Regions from separate parts of the Homo sapiens genome. Here regions 2, 3, 4, 5, 6 and 7 are each linked to region 1. The links are contacts of gene promoters, found by promoter capture Hi-C in human tissues and cell types (Jung and others, 2019). All regions are on one chromosome and are shown on one strand. The core of a region is centred on a gene start or on the middle of the fragment in contact, and the rest is flanking DNA. Distances in the headings are between cores, read along the strand shown.

Region 1 (2,799 bases), core at 114-2,613:
GGAACCACAAGGCCCCACATATCCGCGGCCATGCACAACATTGCACAATTCAAAATTCTAGGCACCATTGTTTTGTGCACCAGCTCAGTCACGTTTTCAAAGCGTCGGTATGGTCTGTCGTTTAATTTTTGATGAAAGTCAAACCAGGAAAGATATCACCTCATGTTACTGAAAATACAAACGTTCAGAAAGTCTAAATCAAGGACGCACGGCTACTGGAACCTATGATTCCTAATGCCTGGTTCACCTAACCAAGAACACACTCGCCACCATTTAAACCTGTTTATTTTATAAACAACGGGGAAATGTAGGGCTTGGGCTAGTTGGGGAAGGACTGAGCCAAGAAGCCGAATCTGTTCTAGACGGAGGTGGGAAGGGGCCTAACGGTCAGGGCTCAGAGAAGCGGTTTCGCCTTCTTTTCCGCGGAGGGATCCAGACACGACCGCGTCCTGAGGCGGTTCTGAAAAGCCGGGCCCCTTAAACCTCTGCGTCGGGGGCTGCCTCCCGACAGTTGCCGTAGGGAAATGCAGGTGCTGGGAGGCCTGCCGAGCTAACCCGCCCCACCCCGCGGCGGCCTGGCGGCTCCCTCCAATCCCAATCCTGGGGGGCCGTGAGCGAGCAGCCCTAGTGGCACCCTGAAGCCGGAACCTTCGCCCCAGCCCCTCGGGGTCAGCCCTTGTCCAAAGCCACGCTATGAAATACAGATTCGCGAAACCCGGGGCACTTAGAGGCCCGTCTGGAACACGAAGGTGGGGCATGGAAAGGAGGATTCGGACGTGGGTGGGGGAGGGGAGCAACAACCTTCGCAGCCATTTTGTCCTCGCTCCACTTCCGTCTTCTCCTGCCCGGCTCCCGCGCCCAAACCCCTCCCTTCAGGCCCCGCGCGATTCCGCCCCCAGTTCTGTGCCGGCCAAGATCCCGGCTAGCGCCGCTATCATTGGTTAGTTCCAAGTTTGCCCGCCCCTCTTCCTCCTCCTTTTTCCGCCCCCTCCCTCCCGCGGAAGCTGGGGGCGCATGCGTAGAGGTGGACGCTCCCCTCCCCCGCCCGGGGTAACTGAGGACTCCCGCGCGCGGACTCGCTGCGCCCCACCCTCCCTTTCCCCGGGGCCGTCCGGAGAGCGGGGGCGAGCTTGAAAGTTCCAGAACGCTGCGGTGAGTGCGTTATCGTGAGGCGGAGCGCGGTGGGGTGGGTGCGGAAGGGGGCGAGGCCCGAGGAGTGGAGCCGGGCTTGTGATTGGGTCTTGTAAGGGCAGCCGGGCGTCTATTGGCCGGGGAAGCCGTAATGGCAGGCAGCAGGGGCGGGCCCCTTCTGGAAGGTTCTAAGATAGGGTATAAGAGGCAGGGTGGCGGGCGGAAACCGGTCTCATTGAACTCGCCTGCAGCTCTTGGGTTTTTTGTGGCTTCCTTCGTTATTGGAGCCAGGCCTACACCCCAGGTAAAACCTCTGCTCAAGAGTTGGGTTGTGGGTCTGGGAGCGTGCAGCCTCCACACAGGCCTGTTGGGCTTGCTGAGGCTTGGGGGTTCTGAGAATCTCGTCGAGGCGAGTGTGCGGCTCCTTCTACCGGCTTAAAGGGCCTCAGTTTTCGGTGGGATGGCAGCGGTATTTGGTTGCAGCCGGCAGGACGGAAATGTAGGGAGTGGGCCGCAGTGGCCCCAGGGGAGGCTGGGAGACGCCCGGCGGCCGCGTGGCGGGGGAGGGTTGCTGCATCGGTTTGCCTGGCGCGCGGGGAAGTGGAGCCAGCGTTTTCTTTCACCCAGTTCCCTGCTTAGTCCAGTCCCACCGTGGTTCTTCAGAGCTGTTCTTGGCGTGCTTCCAGTATGGGGGTACATTCCGGAGTAGTTAAAAGCCCGTTGACTCCCGGGGGCACTGGCACCTGGCGAGGGAGGGGAACAGACAGTGCTCAGTTCGGGGTAAGACCACGTGTTGAGCAACGCCCCACGCCGTCTGGGTAGATGGGTCCTTCATCTAGGGCGTGCTCTGCTGCGGTTGGCACGGCAACCTGGACTGCAGCACTAGTTCTGGACCTCGCGCGTGCTTAGACAGGAGGTGATGGGCACTATTACCTCTTGGCAGTGGCCATACGTTTTTCCTGGTTAAGTGTTCTGTTAAGGGATGAGGGAAATATTTTGATTAATTGAATTTTTAAACCAGATTTTTCTTTTTTTCAGCAACCATGTCCAAGGGACCTGCAGTTGGTATTGATCTTGGCACCACCTACTCTTGTGTGGGTGTTTTCCAGCACGGAAAAGTCGAGATAATTGCCAATGATCAGGGAAACCGAACCACTCCAAGCTATGTCGCCTTTACGGACACTGAACGGTTGATCGGTGATGCCGCAAAGAATCAAGTTGCAATGAACCCCACCAACACAGTTTTTGGTGAGTTCCTAATTTTAAATGACAGAACAAATATAACAGGGCTAGGAAGCACAAAAGTTTATGAAACGTGAGGAGGGAACTTTTTGATTTTAGAAAAACTGAGCTGAGAGACTTGTTATCAAGTCTGTTATAAAACAGGTTGTAGAAACCTTTCAGGCTGAAATCTGGATAACGTAGGAGGTTGAAGTTTGAACCTTTGCTACCTATATGGTAGTTGAATTCACCTACCTATGAACTGTTAGGTATTTGAGTAATCATGGACTTGAGTTTTATCAGAAGAGCTATGAAATTGAAAGTGTTTTCATTTGACACCTTTTACAGATGCCAAACGTCTGATTGGACGCAGATTTGATGATGCTGTTGTCCAGTCTGATATGAAACATTGGCCCTTTATGGTGGTGAATGATGCTGGCAGGCCCA
Region 2 (2,799 bases), core at 224-2,723, 500 kb after region 1:
CTCCCATTCTGTAGGTTGTCTTTTCACTCTGTTGACTGTTTCCTTTGCTGCACAGAAGCTTTTTAGTTTGATATAATCTCATTTGTTTATTTTTGCTTTTATTGCCTGTGCTGCTGCTTCTTTTTTTAGGGTTCAAAATGATGTGCCTTTTAAAATTTTAAATTTATTTTTAATTTAATTTTTATTGAGGTAAAATGTACATATAAGATTTACCATTTTTTTTTTTTACCATTTTAAGTACACAGTTCAGTGGTAATAATTATATTTATATTCTTTTTTCTTCCCTTCATCTTCTCCACTACTCTACTTTTCCCAGCCTCTGGTAACCACCAATCTACTATCTTTATAAGAGCTACATTTTTAGGTCCCACATATGAGTGAGACCATGTGATATTTGTCTTTCCGTGCCTGGCTTATTTCTCTTAATATAATGTCCTCCAGCTCCATCCATGCTGTTGCAAAGGACATGATCTCATTGCTTCTTATGGTTGGATAGTATTCCATGTTGTATATGTACAACTTTTTCTTTATCCAGTCCAGTACTGATGGGCACTGAGTTGATTTCATGTTATTGCTATTGTGAATAGTGCTGTGAGGAACATATGAGCCAGCACCATTTATTGAAAAAAACTGTTCTTTTCTTATTGTATGTTATTAGTGTCTTTGTTGAAGATGAGTTGGCTATAAATGTTTGGATTTATATCTGGATTCTCCATTCTGTTCAGTTGGTCTATGTTTCTTTTTTATGTCAGTATCATGCTGTTTTGATTACTATAGCTTTGTAGTAAATGTTGGAAAGAAGTTTGTTGATTTTCTTTATTTTTTAAAAAGTAGGTTTTTCTTTAATTGGTCTTTTGTATTTTTTTAGTGTAAATTTTGTTTATTGTTTTCTCTTATATTTATTATTTCATTTCTTCTACTAATTTGGGTTTGGCTTGTTCTTACTTTTCGAGGTTTTTTTTTTTTTTTTTTTTTTTGAGACAAAGTCTCACTCTATCTCCCAGGCTGGACTGCGATAGCCCTATCTTGGCTCACTGCAACCTCCACCTCCCAGGTTCAAGCAATTCTCTCACTTCAGCCTCCCAAGTAAATGGGATTACAGGCACCTCCCACCACACCCAGCTAAGTTTTGTATTTTTAGTAGAGATGGGGTTTTGTCATGTTGGCCAGGCTGGTCTCGAACTCCTCACCTCAGGTGATCTGCCCACCTTGGCCTCCCAAAGTGTTGGTATTATAGGCATGAGCCACCACACCCGGCCTTGTTTCTATTTTCATTTATTTCAAGAAATTTATTTCAGCCCCAGTGCTGGAGTGGTGCAGTGGCTACTGATCCCCCGAGCAGGTACACTCCAGCAATGACTCTAGCTTCAAGATGGTGCCATGCTGCAGCGGCTTGGCTCACAGTGGGTGGGTGAGGTAATCTGTGGCAATTCAGCTGTGTGAATTCTGGCAGCTCTCAAAACTGGGTCAGGGCTTGTGAGAACTCTGGGATTCTTTTGTTGTAAGGACTGCAGGTAAAGTGTCAATGGGGTCTGGTGGGGATCTCCTCTTATCTTTTCCTCACAATGGGAAGTCCTTCCTGACTCTGGAAAGATCTGATCTGGTACTGGGTGATGGGACTGCAGAGGCTGGGTGCCTCCATGCTGCCCTCCTGGACTTCCACTCACCACAGGTGTGCCTCCACTCCCCCACTGCACTTCAGCATGCTCCCTTCGACACTCCAGTCAAATCTTAGTAATTTCTTCATTGTCTTAGTCCTTTCTTGTGTGGAGGCCTCTCAAAGTGCTGGGATGACAGGCGTAAGCACCACGTTCAGCCTTTTCTAGTTTTTTGAGGTGTATGATTAGGTTGTTTATTTGAAACCTTTCTAGCTTATTGATGTAGGCATTTTTTTTATAATCTTGCCTCTTAGTACTGCTTAGTGCCAGACATTTCTAGTCAACCATCTTTCTGATGTCACTTCAGTTATTTTTTCATAAACATATTTTATTTCCTACATGATACCATTGAAAGTCATTGTCAAATGCTTTGATAAAATCTGTTGAAGTTCAGTGACCCTGTCAGTGAAAAACTCAAGGTTAGTCTGACATGTCATGCTCTTGGTGAACCAGTTTTAGTTCTGAGTTATCATCATTTCCTCCTTTTAGCGTTTCTTTTTTGATTTTTTAGTATTTTCATAGTTTTGGGGGCACAGGTGGTTTTCGGTTACATGGATAAGTTCTTAGTGGTGATTTCTGAAATTTTAGTGCACCTGTCACCTGAGCAGTGTACACTGGATCCAATATGTCTTCTTTTATCCTTCACCCTCTCCTGTCAGTATTTCTAAATAGCCATGTAAATGCCCCTTCTTTGATTTTGTCTATGTTTTTCTGAAAATTTTCCTACTTTCTACAACAGAATATTTTACCACGTGAAAATGAAAATATTACTGAGCCTCAAAACTTTTCAGAGTTTATGGTTCTATATAATTTGACCTGTGAGAAGAACTGATACAATTTTCAGGTATCATTTCAAGAGGAGAAATTTATAACTAATGTTTTTAAGTAAGAAATTGATACTTTAGAGTGAATGTTTATAAAGAAAGGAGGATAAAGGCACAAAATTATAATATATGTAAAATTCCCCTGAATAAGTTGCATTCCAACTAAATATCGGAGCTGTATTATATTGTGAGCTTATGTAATAATTATAAACTTTCTGGAGGAATATATATTGTTAAAATGAATTATTACTGTATGTTGGTGATACATTTTAGTTATTCACACAAAAACAACCATAGGACTGGAACTTTAAAGTGTA
Region 3 (2,799 bases), core at 185-2,684, 450 kb before region 1:
ACCTTCTCTCAGCATCACAACAGACATGAGACTGGCATATCATGAGTAAACCAAAGGGTTCAGCTTCCATCCATTTTGTGACCAGCGCTATTCAGTAAATGCTTTTCCATGCACTAAGCCACTAGCTACCTTTGATGATCCAGTGGCACTTGTGTGCTGGCGTGTACCATGATGGGGTTTTTACATGGATTGGTAATGAATTGAGAAAAATTAGGACAATGTGGTAAACACCAAAAGGTTAAATATGTTGGCTGGGTGCGGGGGCTCACACCTGTAATCTTGGCACTTTGGGAGGCCGAGGTGGGCAGATCACTTGAGCTCTAGTGTTTGAGACTAGACTGGGCAACATGGTGAAACCCTCGTCTCTACTAAAAATACAAAAATTAGCCCGGCGTGGTGTTGCCCACCTGTGGTCCCAGCTACATGGGAGGCTGAGGCAGGAGGATTGCTGGAGCCCCGGAGGCGGAAGTTGCAATGAGCTGAGATCATGCCACTGCACTCCAGCCTGGGAGACAGAGCAAGACTCTGCCTCAAAAAAAAAAAAGGTTTGAATATATTGACAGCATGACCTTTTAAATTTTGTGTTTAAATATTCTTTAAATATACATATACATAGTGGTGGTAGTTCTATGTTTCAGTTTAGTTGCTAGCTTTCATAGGTAAAATAAATAACTGGTAATTCTGTGCTGGTCCACCAATTTTTTTCAATCTCTCCACAAAATCCAGAAGTTCAGACTCCCCTATGAAGAAGGCTCTCCGTTCTAAGACCTCATCCTATAAGGAGAGCCTCTGCCTCTCAACTGCTGTGACGGGGCATCTGATTTTTTTGGATTTTGGAATATTTGCAGGATACATAGTCAAATCTGAAGTCTGAAATGCTCTAATGAGTATTGCCTTTGAACGGCATGTTGGCACTCAATACGTTTCAGGTTTGGGAGCATTTCTAATTTCAGATTTTCAGATCTGGGATGCTCAACCAGTACCACTCCCTAACCTCAGACACAAATTTCTCATTGTTTCTGAACAACTTCACCTAGATATCTCACGGGCAGTTCAGAGCCAGTATGAATAAAGGGAACTCCTCACTGTCCCACTGTCTCCTCCCAACTCTGACGTCTTGTATCAATCTCAAATCACACCACCAGCTACCAAGTGACCCAGTCAGAAACCAACGATTCACCCTAGACTCCTCCATCTCCCATTTAATTAGGAACTACGTCGTGTCAGTTCTAGCACCTGAAATATGACTAGAGTGTGCTTCTTGCTGTCAACGTTCACCTGCCTTTCAATTCTTACCTTTAGGTTTGCAGTTGCAGTTACCCTCTCCTATTTGTTCATTCACCAAATATTTATTGAGCATCTATCACCTGCCAAGTAAAATGCTAAGTGCCAGGGTTTCTGTGAATTAAGAAACAAAACACACAATCCCTGCCCTCAAGGAGCTCACAGTCTAGTGGGGAGAGATAGATGTAAAAATAATAGTAATAATAAAGTTATCAGAGATGGAGCAAAATGAGGCAATTATCTTACTTGTCTACCTTGGAGCCAGAGTACTTTCTCAAAAGCAAACCTGATGGTACCTCGAAGTCCTTCAGCTGTTCGCAGTGTCTATGCAGTCTCAGCACTGCACGGGCTTTCACAGCGCTTCAGCTCCCTGCTTCTGTTTCTGGTTTTCACATTTGCCTCTTGTCTTCCACATGCATCCTAAGCACCAGTCCTGCCAAGCTACTTGTCGTGCCCTGGGCCCTGCCATGTCCATCCTGGGCCCACTATTCTCTAACAGATCTCTGCACCCACAGCCACCATTCAGTGACTATCTGCAGTGTGCCAGGCATTAATCCTAAGACATTGCATTTAATCCTCATGACAATCCCAGCGTATTGATGGTGAACTCATGGACAAACGAGGAAACTGAGACCAGGGAAGGCCAAGATAACCCACTCAAGTTCACAGAGCCAGAAAGCAACAGGGTCAGCATTTGAACCTAGATATGTCCAACTCTAAATCACAGCCACATCATCTTTCCTCTCTTGTCCACCTGATAAATTCCCACCCACACTTCAGGTCTCAGATCAAATGTAACCTTCTTTACAAAGCCCTTTATGAACTGCCCAGTCAAGTAATTCTTCTTGCGTCCCTGATTTTGAACCTATTACCTTGTGTTGCCATAATTTGTTTACTTGTCTGTCTCCCCCGAGGACCCATGAACAACTCTTCACGGCGATTGTGAACTACCCATCTCTAAACTCTCCATACTGAACTCTCTCCACTGGCATACAGTCAGCATTTAATAACCCTCTGGTGAATGAATGGGTTAATTAATGCTCCCTAACCTCTTTTCTCAAAGTTAAGACAAAAACTCTTGCCAGCACAGTGGCTCAAGCCTATAATCCCAGCACTGTGGGAGGCCAAGGTGGCAGAATTGCTTGAGCCCAGGAGTTCGAGACCAGCCTGGGCAACATAGTGAGACTCCATTTCTACAAAAAATAAAAAATTAGCCAAGTGTGGTGGCATGCACCTGTAGTCCCACCTGCTCAGGAGGCTGAGGCAGGAGGATCACTTGAGCCCAAAAAGTTGAGGTTGCAGTGAGCCATGATCGCACCACTGCACTCCAGTCTAGGCAATAGAGACCCTGTGAAAGAAGAAAAGAAAGAAAGAAAGAAAGGTAAGAAAAAGAAAGAAAGAAAGAAAGAAAGAAAGGAAGGAAGGAAGGAAGGAAGGAAGGAAGGAAGGAAGGAAAGGAAGGAAGGAAGGAAGGAAGGAAAGAAAGGAAAGGAAGGAAGGAAGGAAGGAAGGAAG
Region 4 (2,799 bases), core at 89-2,588, 410 kb before region 1:
TGTGCTAGGGGAGGGGAGGGGAGGAGAGGGGAGGGAAGGGAGAATGAAAGGGAGGGGAGGGAGAGGGGAGGGGGAAGGGAAGGAAGGGGGAGAAGGGGAGAGGATGGGAGGGGGAGAGGAGGGGGAGGGGGGAGGGGAGGCAAGGGAGAGGGAAAGAAAGAGAAAAAGAAAGAAAGAAGGAGGAAAGAAAGAAAGAGAAAGAAATGTGAAGTATGAAAAAGAGCATCTGCCACATTTTAACTGCTATGTAAATGCCAGGTGCCATTATCCTATATGCAAGGCATCATTTTATGGGTTATAGGAAAAGAAAGACGTGAATCAAACAAGGATCCTGCTCTCAAAGTGCTTAGAATCAGGAAAGTAAGATTCAATATAAATAACTATATTTAAAAGCAGAAAAATGATAACTCTCAATACTATGTATTAAGTGCTATGGGAACACAGAATGCAGAAATGTCATGTCCTTCTGGGACCAGTAAGACAATTCTGTCTTAACAACAAGATTTTTGTGCTGCCACTTAAAACTGGATAGACTCAAGACATGCAGAAATGAGAAGAAAAGGCATTCTAGTTCAATTCCGTTTACCACTCTCATGTACCCAGCACTGTGCTAGGAGACAGTACTGTAAAGATGATCAGGACAAGGTCTCTCCAGCAAAGAGCTCCCAGTCTAAGACATACAAATATTCACCGTGGACTGTGATGCAACAACAGCAGAAAAATGAACAAGGTGTAGCTGGTGGACACCTCTGTTGGAAAGCTCCAGGGAACACATCAGAGAGGTGAACATCGAGCTGGAGGGACTCTAGATAAATCCATGGTGGCAACAGGCATAGGGTATATACAGGATCTTTCCTCCTCCAGTACCCTCGGCAGAGGCCTGGCCCTATTTCCTCCCATTATTTGAGCTTGTTTTTCAACAGTCTTAAAGAAGTTAAATGGGCCGGGTGCGGTGGCTCACGCCTGTAATCCCAGCACTTTAGGAAGCCGAGGCGGGTAGATCACCTGAAGTAAGGAGTTCGAGACCAGCCTGGCCAACATGGTGAAACCCTGTCTCTACTAAAAATACAAAAATTAGCCAGGTGTGATGGTGCACGCCTATAATCCCAGCTACTCGGGAAGTTGAGGCAGGAGAATCACTTGAACCTGGGAGGTGGAGGTTGCAGTGAGCCAAGATCGTGCCACTGCCCTCCAGCCTAGATAACAGAGACTCCGTCTCAAAAAAAAAAAAAAGAAGTTAAATGGATGAATTGCTGCCAACCACTCCTCCACTCAATCCCATGAAATAATATTGTTGAGCAGAATTTCCAGAGATTCAGACACTGCCTCACCCTCTCACACACACCCTTTCAATTCTTCTCTTATATGAGCCTTTTTCAATGATATAGGCCACCTGGACCCCAGGCAACTCACGCTGCTCCCTAAATAAACCTACCAGTCTTCGGAGACCATGAAAAGAGCAACCTCCAGGCCAAGGTGTTTATAAAGGAGTGCAGCATGCTACAAGGTCAAAAAGCACACCTCCCTCCACTCCAGATTAGTCAAGGCCTTAGTGGGAGAAGACATCCAGTCTGCGTCCACTCTGGGATTCAGGAGGTTGAAAAGAACTTGGAGAAAGTCCAGCAGAGGGCACTAACAGATGAAACTGTCTGTTGGAAACCCTGAAAAAGAAACTCTAAACTAGGATTTGGAATGTCCTTGCCTGGGCACCGGATGACTGAAAGATGGCTTAACACTGCAAGGAAGGGAATTTGTATAAGCAACTGCTTGCCATTCGCTCAAGACAGCTAGATATGGAACTAGGATGACTTTAATCCCTCCTGCTGTACATTCAAGCTTCAGATAAAATTCACTGTATAAATTAAATTTTGGAACACTAGACCATGTTCCTAAATAAGATGGGAAGCTCTTGGTAAAATTCTGGGATATTCCTGAGGGAAACCAGCTGAAGCAGAATCCTGGTTTTGTTTAAGACCAGCGTGCTAGTGCAGGAGCTTATCCTGGAAGGTCACATTAATACCAGCAGCACTGGAAGGACTGGGAAAAATCCACAGGAATCTGAGCCAAAGCACGCTCCACAAGGGAGAAATTCACTAGGCTTTGACCAGGAAGCTCTGCAATGCGGGCTGGGCAAATTCTCATGATTCCAGTGATCTCCCTTCCTCCCTCCCTGTACCCAGGACACGTGCAGAAAGTACAGACTAAACCCACGAACCACCAGGAAGCCGTCCTTCTGCCCTCTGAAAGGCACGGCTTTACTGCTAGAAAGACGGAATATGGCAACCTCTACTGAGTAGGTGCTTCCTAGGGAGAAACAGCTCTTTCTCTTCCAGGCAACCCTACAGGAGTCATAGCTTCCTATGCCCAGAAGGGGTTCTGAGAGATTCAGGTGGTCCCAAGCCGTCATGGGGGCATGTAGGCTGTAATGCAGTATTTCCAGAGCCTGATGGAAACTACATTTACCCACACCCAGGCTGCAGAGACTAATGTACTGCATCTCTTTACTTCTGGCTGCAACTGAGGCAATCTCTCCTGTTAGTATCAATTATCTCATGCTAATTAGAAGCTGCAAAAGGCTCTGAGTGGCAGTTATAGATGTCTTTGTGTCTTTGTTAATAAAAATGGGGAAATATATTATTTTAAGCAGTGATACAGTAGAAATAGCACCAAGGCAGACAAACCTGGGTTTGCCCCCTGCCTTTATTTGTTTTTTGTTTTTCTGGATTGAGGTCCTTGGGACATAGGCTTTGTTTCTTATTAGCCTTCTAACCTTGGCCAAGTCACTTATCCTCCCTTAGC
Region 5 (2,799 bases), core at 106-2,605, 320 kb after region 1:
AGGGTTGCTGACTCCAGAAGAGGCTCTGAAGCAGCCTGGCCACCCAAGTTCAGAAAGTTCACGTTTCTGGGGCCTGGCTGTCGTGAGGGCCTTATGGGAGGGAAGAGGAGCAGCTGGATGCCTTGCTGCTTACAGGTCTGTGCTCTCCCAAGCAAAGCATCACGGGGCCTCATAACGCAAATGTCTCGGCCTTCCCACCAGGAGACCCGCGAGGATTTCAGGCTTGGAGTATTCGATCACTCACGCAGTTCCTCTGGAGTGGGATGTTCACTGACCACTATGTGAACTGACTTAGATCTTAAAGAGACGGGCTTGAAAGGAAGCAAACACAACCTCCGGTTTTGCTCATTCACTGAGTTCTAACACGAACCCGAATGTTCATTTATTGGTAAACAGCCAATGCAAAGAGTGCTATTTTTGTTGATTTATGTCTTTGTGGGTTTGGGTTTGTTTCTGCTGTTTGAAACACTTCGGGGATACATCTCATTTAAGATCCAATTGAAAATTTTTAAAATTCATTATGAAGGAAAAGAGCCGAACATGAAAATATTCTATGAACTGAGAGTAAATTGAATATTTTATTCTGTGAAGATCTTATAAAATCTGAATCACATCACAGCTTTAGTCCTCAAACTAGCTGAGAGGTTAAGTTCTGAATTCCTCAATTTTTATATAAAAAATAAACTTTGTCATTTTTAAGGTGAAAAGAGCGAATAACCTGGAAATACTTTTACGTAATTGGGGCTTACCTTGAGGACAGAATTCATTTATATGTTAATATGCGCTTTGAAGTAAGAAGGAATCAAAATCCCTGCGAACGATTTGTTTTTAATTAGATTACTAACCTCAGTCCCCATTTTATGTACACATTATGTCCCACTAAAGCAGGACTTTTGCTAAAAAATGCTCTAAAGAGTGGGTTCTGTTTCACTTTAAAAGTAATATAGTGAATTTTTATAAAAAATGAACATGCAGAGATGTTTGTCTACAACAACCTCTATCTTGGTGTTCAGTATCTCAAAGCTGGCCTCAACTGACCTTTCTGCCTTCAGCTTGCCCCCTTGCCCCACACACATGTACACAGATGGCCTGCACACATCTGGTATGGCAGGGTCGCTTGCAAGTACAGACTCAGGAGTGTACAGGATGGTTTATATTCAAATTATAGCTTATCACTCTGTTATGGGCAAGTTATCCAACCTCTCTAAGCATCAGTGATATCCCATGTACAATGGGAATAATAATAGGACTGCCTCATATGGTTGCCGTGTGCATCAAGTGAAATAAAACAAGTACTTAGCACCATGCACACAACACATATTGTGCTTTCAGTAAACAGCTGCTGGCATCCTAATCCTGGGACAACACACGGTTCACCCTTTACAGAGCCAGCCATTCTCTTTCAAGTACATGCTCTTTCATCAGGAAACATGTCAGGAAAGCCCATCCCCTTTTCTTCACCTGGGAAGATTCAGTTCACAATTCAAGGTGCAGTTCAAATGCCAGATTTGCTGAAAGTTTCTTGTGACCTCCCAATTCCCACCTGCATGATAGCCAGTTAGTAGCTCCAAATTAACCTATTCACAGTCTACTTAAATTATGTCTTTAGATCTTGCTTTGCCACAAAATATGGGATCCTTCAGCGTGTAGAACTGAATATTATTCCTCTTTGCACTGCAGATGCCAGGCACCAAGCAGACACTCAATATTTATTAAATGAATATGACAAAATGGAATCAAATGGCATCTGCGAGGATGTCAGGACGTATGGAACATATGGCTTTACAGAAATACAATCCATATTACAGCTTTTCTAGAAACTAGTTATTTCTGGGTGGACATGAATGTAAGGAAATCAGCTATCATAGAAGACAGGATAAAAGGAGAACACTGAAGAAGAAATTAGGCAATGGCTTCAGGGCTGTGCCATCTGTCTGAAGGATGTGTTATCCATCTTGTAGGTAAATCCCATAAAGCTTAATGGGAAAGTGATACTTTTGAACCACTGCCCAGCCCCAAATGTAAAAACTCTTGCATCAAGACAATTTGGTACACAGCAAATGAGCTATGCCAATTTGTCAAATCAGAGAGTGAGCAGAGATGAAAATTTAGCCCTGCACTTGGAAGGAAACTTTTCAGAAGACTGTTTTTTCCTTCAGTATTGCAAAGTTAGGAAGAAAATTTATGTCTCCTGAAAATCAGAGGAGAGTAAGACATTCCAATACCCGACCATGGATACCCACCAACAGCATGGAGCTGTCAGGAGGAGGATAGAGCGTGAGAAGAATACTGTATGCCAAGCACTATAGTAGGTACTTGATAGAAAATGCAATGCCCAAAAGAACCTCAGAGAGAAATCTTATTATTCCCATTTTATTAGTGGAGAAATTGAGTCTTGATGAGGTTAAGTGACCTAGCCAAGGTTAAATGCTTACAAGTGATTTTTTTGCTCTCTATTAAAATTCCTCCCCCAGCCACACACTGTGGACAGCTCTTTTCTAAATCTTCCTCCTCTATAATCCATACTTCTCTCTATTGTTAGAATAATTTTTCTAAAACAGGTTGAGTTAAACTTTCCACTCCTCAGTCTGGGCATCGTAGTGAGACCCTGTCTCTACAAAAAATTTACAAATTACCCGGGTGTGGTGGCACATGCTGTAGTCTCAGCTACTCAGGAGGCTGAGGCAGGAGGATCCCTGAGCCCTGTAATTTGAGGCTGCAGTAAGCCGTGATCGTGCCACCACACTCCAGCCTGAGCAACAGAGTGGGACCTTGTCTCAAAAACAAAACAAAGCAGAA
Region 6 (2,799 bases), core at 128-2,627, 300 kb after region 1:
GCGGATCACTTGAGGTCAGGAGTTCGAGACCAGCCTGGCCAACATGGTGAAACTCCATCTCTAATAAAAATACAAAAATTAGCTGGGCGTGGTGGTGCATGCCTGTAGTCCCAGCTACTCGGGAGGCTGAGGCAGGAGAATCGCTTTAACCCGGGAGGCAGAGGTTGCAGTGAGCAGAGATCATGCCACTGTACTCCAGCCTGGCAACAGAGTGAGACCCTGTCTCAAAAAAAAAAAAAAAAAAAAAAAAAAAAAAAGGATCTGGGAGAAACAGATGAAAATGAAGAGTGATTTCAGGTTGCAGATGACAACAGAGACTAGCTGTTTTTTCTCTTATTTCCACCCCCTTTTCTCTCTAACCCACTAGAATCAGCTAAAAATACTTAAACTTGGGTAATTTTTAGTCCTTCTGAAACGGTTTCAGCCCAAAGCTACATAGGAGACTCTGGCTAACGGCTTTGGTGGGTCAGAGAAAACGTATGCAGACCAGACAGAGCCACTGTCACTCTTCTGTAACTCTTCTTGGTAAGTAATTTGTTAGCAACACTTATTTATGTTTTATTTTTTGGAGTTGGTGTCTCACTCTCACCCAGGCTGAAGTGCATCAGTATAATCACAGCTCACTGCAGCCTCGACCTCCTGGCCTCAAGTGATCCTCCTGTGTCAGCCTCCTGTGTAGCTAGGACTACAGGTGTGTGCCACCATGGCAGGCTATTTTTTTATTTTTATTTTTGGTTGTTGGTAGAGATGGGGGTAAAGAATATGTGAGTAAACACAAAGAAGTCACGGACTTGGATAACTAAGCTGAGGCCTTTCTACCAGGAGGATGGGTTAGTATCATGAGACTCTTGAGAAGACCTTCCAAGGAGAGTGGGGAGATGCCACTTAAGAGAAACCCTCCTCTGCCACCTCGGCCCTGCCAACTGACACTCTCGTGAAGATTTGAAACTCCTCCAAACCAGACTATAGGTCAGATTCTACCAAAGGAAATACCGTCATGGCAAAAACTCCTGCGCAGTCAAACCCATCCTGCTGGTCATTATTTCCAGAGTTATCAGTTATCCAGGGAGACCGAAATCCAGGGTAGAGAAACAACTGGATGGTCTTGGGGTTCATGGTATAAAGAGATGACCAGTATAGTTAGGTATGGAATATGGTATGACAAAAAGAGATTTCCAGTTTACACTGCTGCCATCCAGGATTCAACGTAAGGCATCCCATCCTACTTTTTAAACTCTTCATCTCCAAAAACATGTTTAGACTCCTTAGCATGGCATGCTGAGTCCTCCATGGCCTCACATCTGTCTCCTTCTTCAGTTTCACCCTCAAACATTCTGCTCCCTGGTTCTTCTCTCACACTTAAAACCTTTCTCTGGGGCTGGGTGCAGTGGCTCACACCTGTAATCCCAGCATTTTGGGAGGCCAAGGTGGGTGGATCACAAGGTCAGGAGTTCAAGACCAGCCTAGCCAACCTGGTGAAACCCCGTCTCTACTAAAAATACAAAAAAATTAGCCAGGTGCGGTGGTGCATGCCTGTAATCCCAGCTACTTGGGAGGCCGAGGCAGGAGAATTGCTTGAACCCGGGAGGCGGAGGTTGCAGTGAGCCAAGGTTGAGCCACTGCACTCTAGCCTGGGTGACAGAGCAAGACTCCATCTCAAAGAACAATAACAAAAAAAAAAAAAACTTTCTCTGTTGGTTCCTTTTCCTGCAAGGCTAACTCCACCCTCAGTTACCTGGCTAGCTCCTGCCTATCCTTTAACACTCACTTGCATTTCATTTCCTCCAGGAAGTGGTCCCTACCTGTCTGGGCACCCTTACCAGCCAGGCGGTTGTATCATAGCACCTTCCAAATTATATTTAAAAGATCTGTCTTTGCAATAGACCATGAGCTACTTGAAGCAGAGACCATTTCTTGTTTTCTTTGCATCTCTAGTAGCTGGCACATAGTAGGTGTTAAAATTTTAAAAATATGAACTTCCTGAAGATGTTAAAGGTATATGTATATCAGTGTGGCAGACAGACCCTTGGTGACACCTTAGTAATCCTAACTTCTGGTGTTCACTCCTTTGTATAATTCCCTCCCCTCAAGTGTAGGTGAGACCTATGACTTACCTCTATATGGCAAAGGTGATGGAATCACTTGTGCTATTCCATTATGACACACATAAGACACATCTAAGTCAGGTGTCTCCAACCCCTGAGCCACAGATGGGTACTGGTACGTGGCCTGTTAGGAGCCAGGCTGCACAGCAGGCAGGCAGGCGAGTGAGCATTACTGCCTGAGCTCTGCCTCCTATCAGATCAGTGGCAGCATTAGATTCTCACAGGAGCACAAACCCTACTGTGAACTGCACGTGCAAGGGATCTAGGTTGCAGGCTCCTCAGGAGAATCTAATGCCTGATAGTCTGTCATTGTCTCCCATCACCCACAGATGGTCCCAACTAAGTCAGGGGTCTCCAACTAGACGGTCCCACCTAGTTTCAGGAAAACAAGCTCAGGGCTCCCACTCATTCTACATTATGGTGAGTTGGTTGTATCACTATTTCATTATATATTACAATGTAATAATAATAGGAATAAAGTGCACAATAAATGTAATGCACTTGAATCATCCCCAAACCATCACACCACCACCCGGGTCAGTGGAAAAACTGTCTTCCACAAAACCGGTTCCTGGTGCCAAAAAGATTGGGGACCACTGCTCTAAATGACTCGCTTTCCTGCTGGCCAAGGAGAAGCAGCATGTTGTGGACTGCCTATGAAAAGACAGCCACGTGGCAAGGAACTGCAGGCAGC
Region 7 (2,799 bases), core at 86-2,585, 260 kb before region 1:
CCAAAGTATTGAAGGGGGGTGATGACAAGATAGCCCTGGCTTGAGGGGAGGTCCAGAAATGTGTAATGGGAAGTAAACTGAAAGCTAGACACTGGTTGCTCAGAATACTAGCCAAGGTGTTTGCACTGGGTTCTGCTGGCAATGTGAACCATTAAAAATCTTAGGGAATTTGGACTGATAAATGACCAAAAAAAGTGTTTTAGGAATATTAATCTGGCAATGGCAAGCAGGATAGAGTGAAGCTCAGGAGAAACTCTTCTTCATTTAATTATGCTTCTAAGTAGAATACCTCTTAGAAAACTAGTAATTATCATTCCAGCCTGATAAAGTCTTGAATTAGGGCAGTGATAAACAGCAAGGGAAGAATAGAAAAGAAGGAAAAGGAGTTAGAGGAAAATCTATAGACCTAGGACATTGGCTATAGGTGCCAGGGGTGGGACTGGGGTAGTGTCAAGTTAGTCAAACATGAATTAAGGCTCCGAGTATGGATAAAAGAAATAAGCAAGTCAGAAAAGGAGACACATGATTTTTCTCCTTGCTGGAAAGTAACTACAAGACAGTTAAATGTATTAAATGTGATTCATTTGAGTATAGAAATTTGGGGGTTGGAAAGATCCAGGTTCAAATGAGCAATGAGAGTTGGAGGTCTGAAATAAAGAGAAATTCATGTTGCGTATGTGGACATGGGAATTCATTACGTCTTTTGGCACCAACTATATATGAGGTATGCATTAGGATGCAAAGGGGCCAGAAACAAAGAAGACACTCGTTAACTCAGGAATCATCTACACAGGTGTGTTGGCTGACGTACACAGTGAATGAGATCTGAGCTGAATAAAGAGCTGAATAAAGAACAGGGGATAATGGTGGGATGTAGTAGTTTCGTCTTTACAACGTGTAGAGAAGAGAAGTAGTGGGAACTTCAGAAGCATGAAACAACCCCAGAGCCAAATAAACATGCGGTTTTAAGAAGATGGTGCTATAGAATGCTACTGAGATCAGACAAATGGAAAAGTTGCTGGATTTAGCGATTAGAAAGTAATTGGTAACCTTTGAGAAGGGAATTTTAGTCCAGCTGCAGAGAGTTAAGAAACAAGTGGATGGTGAAAAAGTGGGAGATATTGGTAGGCGTTGTTCACCCAGAGTGGCTTCTTGACAACTTTTCTACACAGTGAGTCCTTCTGCTGCATTGTGTTTTGGCTGGTATGGGAATGGCAGTGTGGAGATATTACACATTTGGTAATAGGCACTCAAGAATTTAATGTCTTTGAAAATGAGAAGTGTTAGGCAAGCCACAGTCGTATTACAGTTGTAGACTCTGAAATAGTGTGAATTTTCCCATAATAATGGCACTTATCACACCACTTAAGTCAAAGAGGATACTTTCCAGCTCAGATATGCTTTCTAATCAGTAGTTAAGGAGTCTCCTTTCTGCGTGTTCACCTTCTTAAATTATTCAATTAAACGTTTATCTTTCCCCTAGGGACCTAATCAAATATGTGGTAAAACCACTTAGAACCACATTATAAGTTTCCTTTCTTCCTTACTTTTCTCTCATTGGCTATAAAAAAAAATTGGTCCCTATCAAAAAAACAATAAAACAAAATCCCAAACACACTTCATTAGCGAGAACAAGGGCTCTATTTTCATTATGAACCTGATATCCCTACACTCAGAGCATCCACCTTGTGGGGAGAGCCCAGTACAGTCCTGATATGGTTCTTCCTATTTCTGATTTGAGGATTTGAATGTGAGTTGAGAAACACAGACTCTCAAGCTTGAATGACTTAAAACTATAGCTAATATCTGTGCTCTCCACAACATCTCCTGTGCATTCAATGTCTTCCTCTCTGTTACTGAATCACATCTAAGTACCCTTGCTTGATTTTAGGACTTTTTCTCATCTTTTCCTACTGGATTCATTCAACCTCATTTTATATTCCACTCTAATGTACACTCATCACTGAGTCAGTCTGGTTTTACCAATATATCTCAAACATATGCCCATGGATCACCAATTCTGTGCATGCCATTATGCTGTTCTCCTTTCTGAAATGCTCTTCCCCTTGCCCACCTTAATTCCTTTTATCTTCTTTTTATTTATTTATTTATTTATTTTTTTTTTTGAGACGGAGTCTCGCTCTGTCGCCCAGGCTGGAGTGCAATGGCGCGATCTCGGCTCACTGCAAGCTCCACCTCCCGGGTTCACGCCATTCTCCCACCTCAGCCTCCCGAGTAGCTGGGACTACAGGCACCTGCCACCACACCCGGCTAATTTTTTGTATTTTTTATTAGAGAAGGAGTTTCACCGTGTTAGCCAGGATGGTCTTGATATTCTGACCTCATGATCTGCCTGCCTCGGCCTCCCAAAGTGCTGGGATTACAGGCATGAGCCACCACGCCCGGCAATTCCTTTTATCTTCTAAGAACCTGACTTAAACACCTCCTCCCTTTGGAGCCCTCCCATGTTATTGCAGTCTATAATTATCTCCTATTTTTTCCAATGTTTTTAGTCTTTAGAAGCTAACTGAGCATTTTTACATCCCATGAGAACAAAAACATCTTGGTCACTTGTCTTGTATTATTCACTCTAATCTATATGTGTAGATATCACGCTCCTAAGGAAGCATGTGCCACAACTTACAGTTCACTTTATTTTGTTCACTGGTATATTGCCCACCCCTGGAGCTGTGCCTGGAACATAGTAGACATTCAATAAATATTTGTTGAATAAGTGAAAAGTGCTTAAGAAATGTTTGTTGATTGATTCATTGGCCTGGATTGAACAAACGATTAAGC

Evidence for each region. The method cuts DNA at HindIII sites, captures the fragments that hold promoters and counts their contacts. A contact is called where the count stands out against the background at its distance.
Region 2: a fragment that was not itself captured here is called in contact with the fragment with the promoter of HSPA8 in region 1 in 1 of the 25 tissues and cell types used here (spleen).
Region 3: a contact is called between a fragment that was not itself captured here and the fragment with the promoter of HSPA8 in region 1, in 1 of the 25 tissues and cell types used here (mesendoderm cells).
Region 4: a contact is called between a fragment that was not itself captured here and the fragment with the promoter of HSPA8 in region 1, in 1 of the 25 tissues and cell types used here (adrenal gland).
Region 5: a fragment that was not itself captured here is called in contact with the fragment with the promoter of HSPA8 in region 1 in 1 of the 25 tissues and cell types used here (dorsolateral prefrontal cortex).
Region 6: a contact is called between a fragment that was not itself captured here and the fragment with the promoter of HSPA8 in region 1, in 1 of the 25 tissues and cell types used here (dorsolateral prefrontal cortex).
Region 7: a contact is called between a fragment that was not itself captured here and the fragment with the promoter of HSPA8 in region 1, in 1 of the 25 tissues and cell types used here (thymus).

Annotation. Positions count from the first base shown.
Region 1 is chr11:123,060,700-123,063,498 of GRCh38, reverse strand. It overlaps HSPA8 (heat shock protein family A (Hsp70) member 8), which reads left to right and starts at 1,363. Exons shown (of 9, transcript NM_006597.6): 1 at 1,363-1,435; 2 at 2,170-2,379; 3 at 2,701-2,799. The coding sequence starts at 2,175. It overlaps LOC124902775 (a long non-coding RNA gene), which reads right to left and starts at 837. Exons shown (of 2, transcript XR_007062927.1): 1 at 1-837. RefSeq lists enhancers at 615-884, 1,445-1,614 and a silencer at 905-1,294. The HindIII fragment of the contact is 26,894 bases long and covers 1-2,799 here.
Region 2 is chr11:122,562,614-122,565,412 of GRCh38, reverse strand. No RefSeq gene overlaps it. Among named protein-coding and RNA genes, the nearest start is that of TRK-TTT2-1, 4.1 kb to the right of the region's middle. The HindIII fragment of the contact is 5,016 bases long and covers 1-2,799 here.
Region 3 is chr11:123,513,519-123,516,317 of GRCh38, reverse strand. The region is part of intron 2 of GRAMD1B (GRAM domain containing 1B); the gene reads right to left. Among named protein-coding and RNA genes, the nearest start is that of GRAMD1B, 85 kb to the right of the region's middle. The HindIII fragment of the contact is 9,471 bases long and covers 1-2,799 here.
Region 4 is chr11:123,474,543-123,477,341 of GRCh38, reverse strand. The region is part of intron 1 of GRAMD1B (GRAM domain containing 1B); the gene reads right to left. Among named protein-coding and RNA genes, the nearest start is that of GRAMD1B, 46 kb to the right of the region's middle. The HindIII fragment of the contact is 3,578 bases long and covers 1-2,799 here.
Region 5 is chr11:122,738,997-122,741,795 of GRCh38, reverse strand. All of the region lies in intron 1 of UBASH3B (ubiquitin associated and SH3 domain containing B), which reads right to left. Among named protein-coding and RNA genes, the nearest start is that of UBASH3B, 85 kb to the right of the region's middle. The HindIII fragment of the contact is 4,619 bases long and covers 1-2,799 here.
Region 6 is chr11:122,759,238-122,762,036 of GRCh38, reverse strand. All of the region lies in intron 1 of UBASH3B (ubiquitin associated and SH3 domain containing B), which reads right to left. Among named protein-coding and RNA genes, the nearest start is that of CRTAM, 78 kb to the left of the region's middle. The HindIII fragment of the contact is 6,956 bases long and covers 1-2,799 here.
Region 7 is chr11:123,322,384-123,325,182 of GRCh38, reverse strand. No RefSeq gene overlaps it. Among named protein-coding and RNA genes, the nearest start is that of LINC02727, 9.0 kb to the right of the region's middle. The HindIII fragment of the contact is 4,223 bases long and covers 1-2,799 here.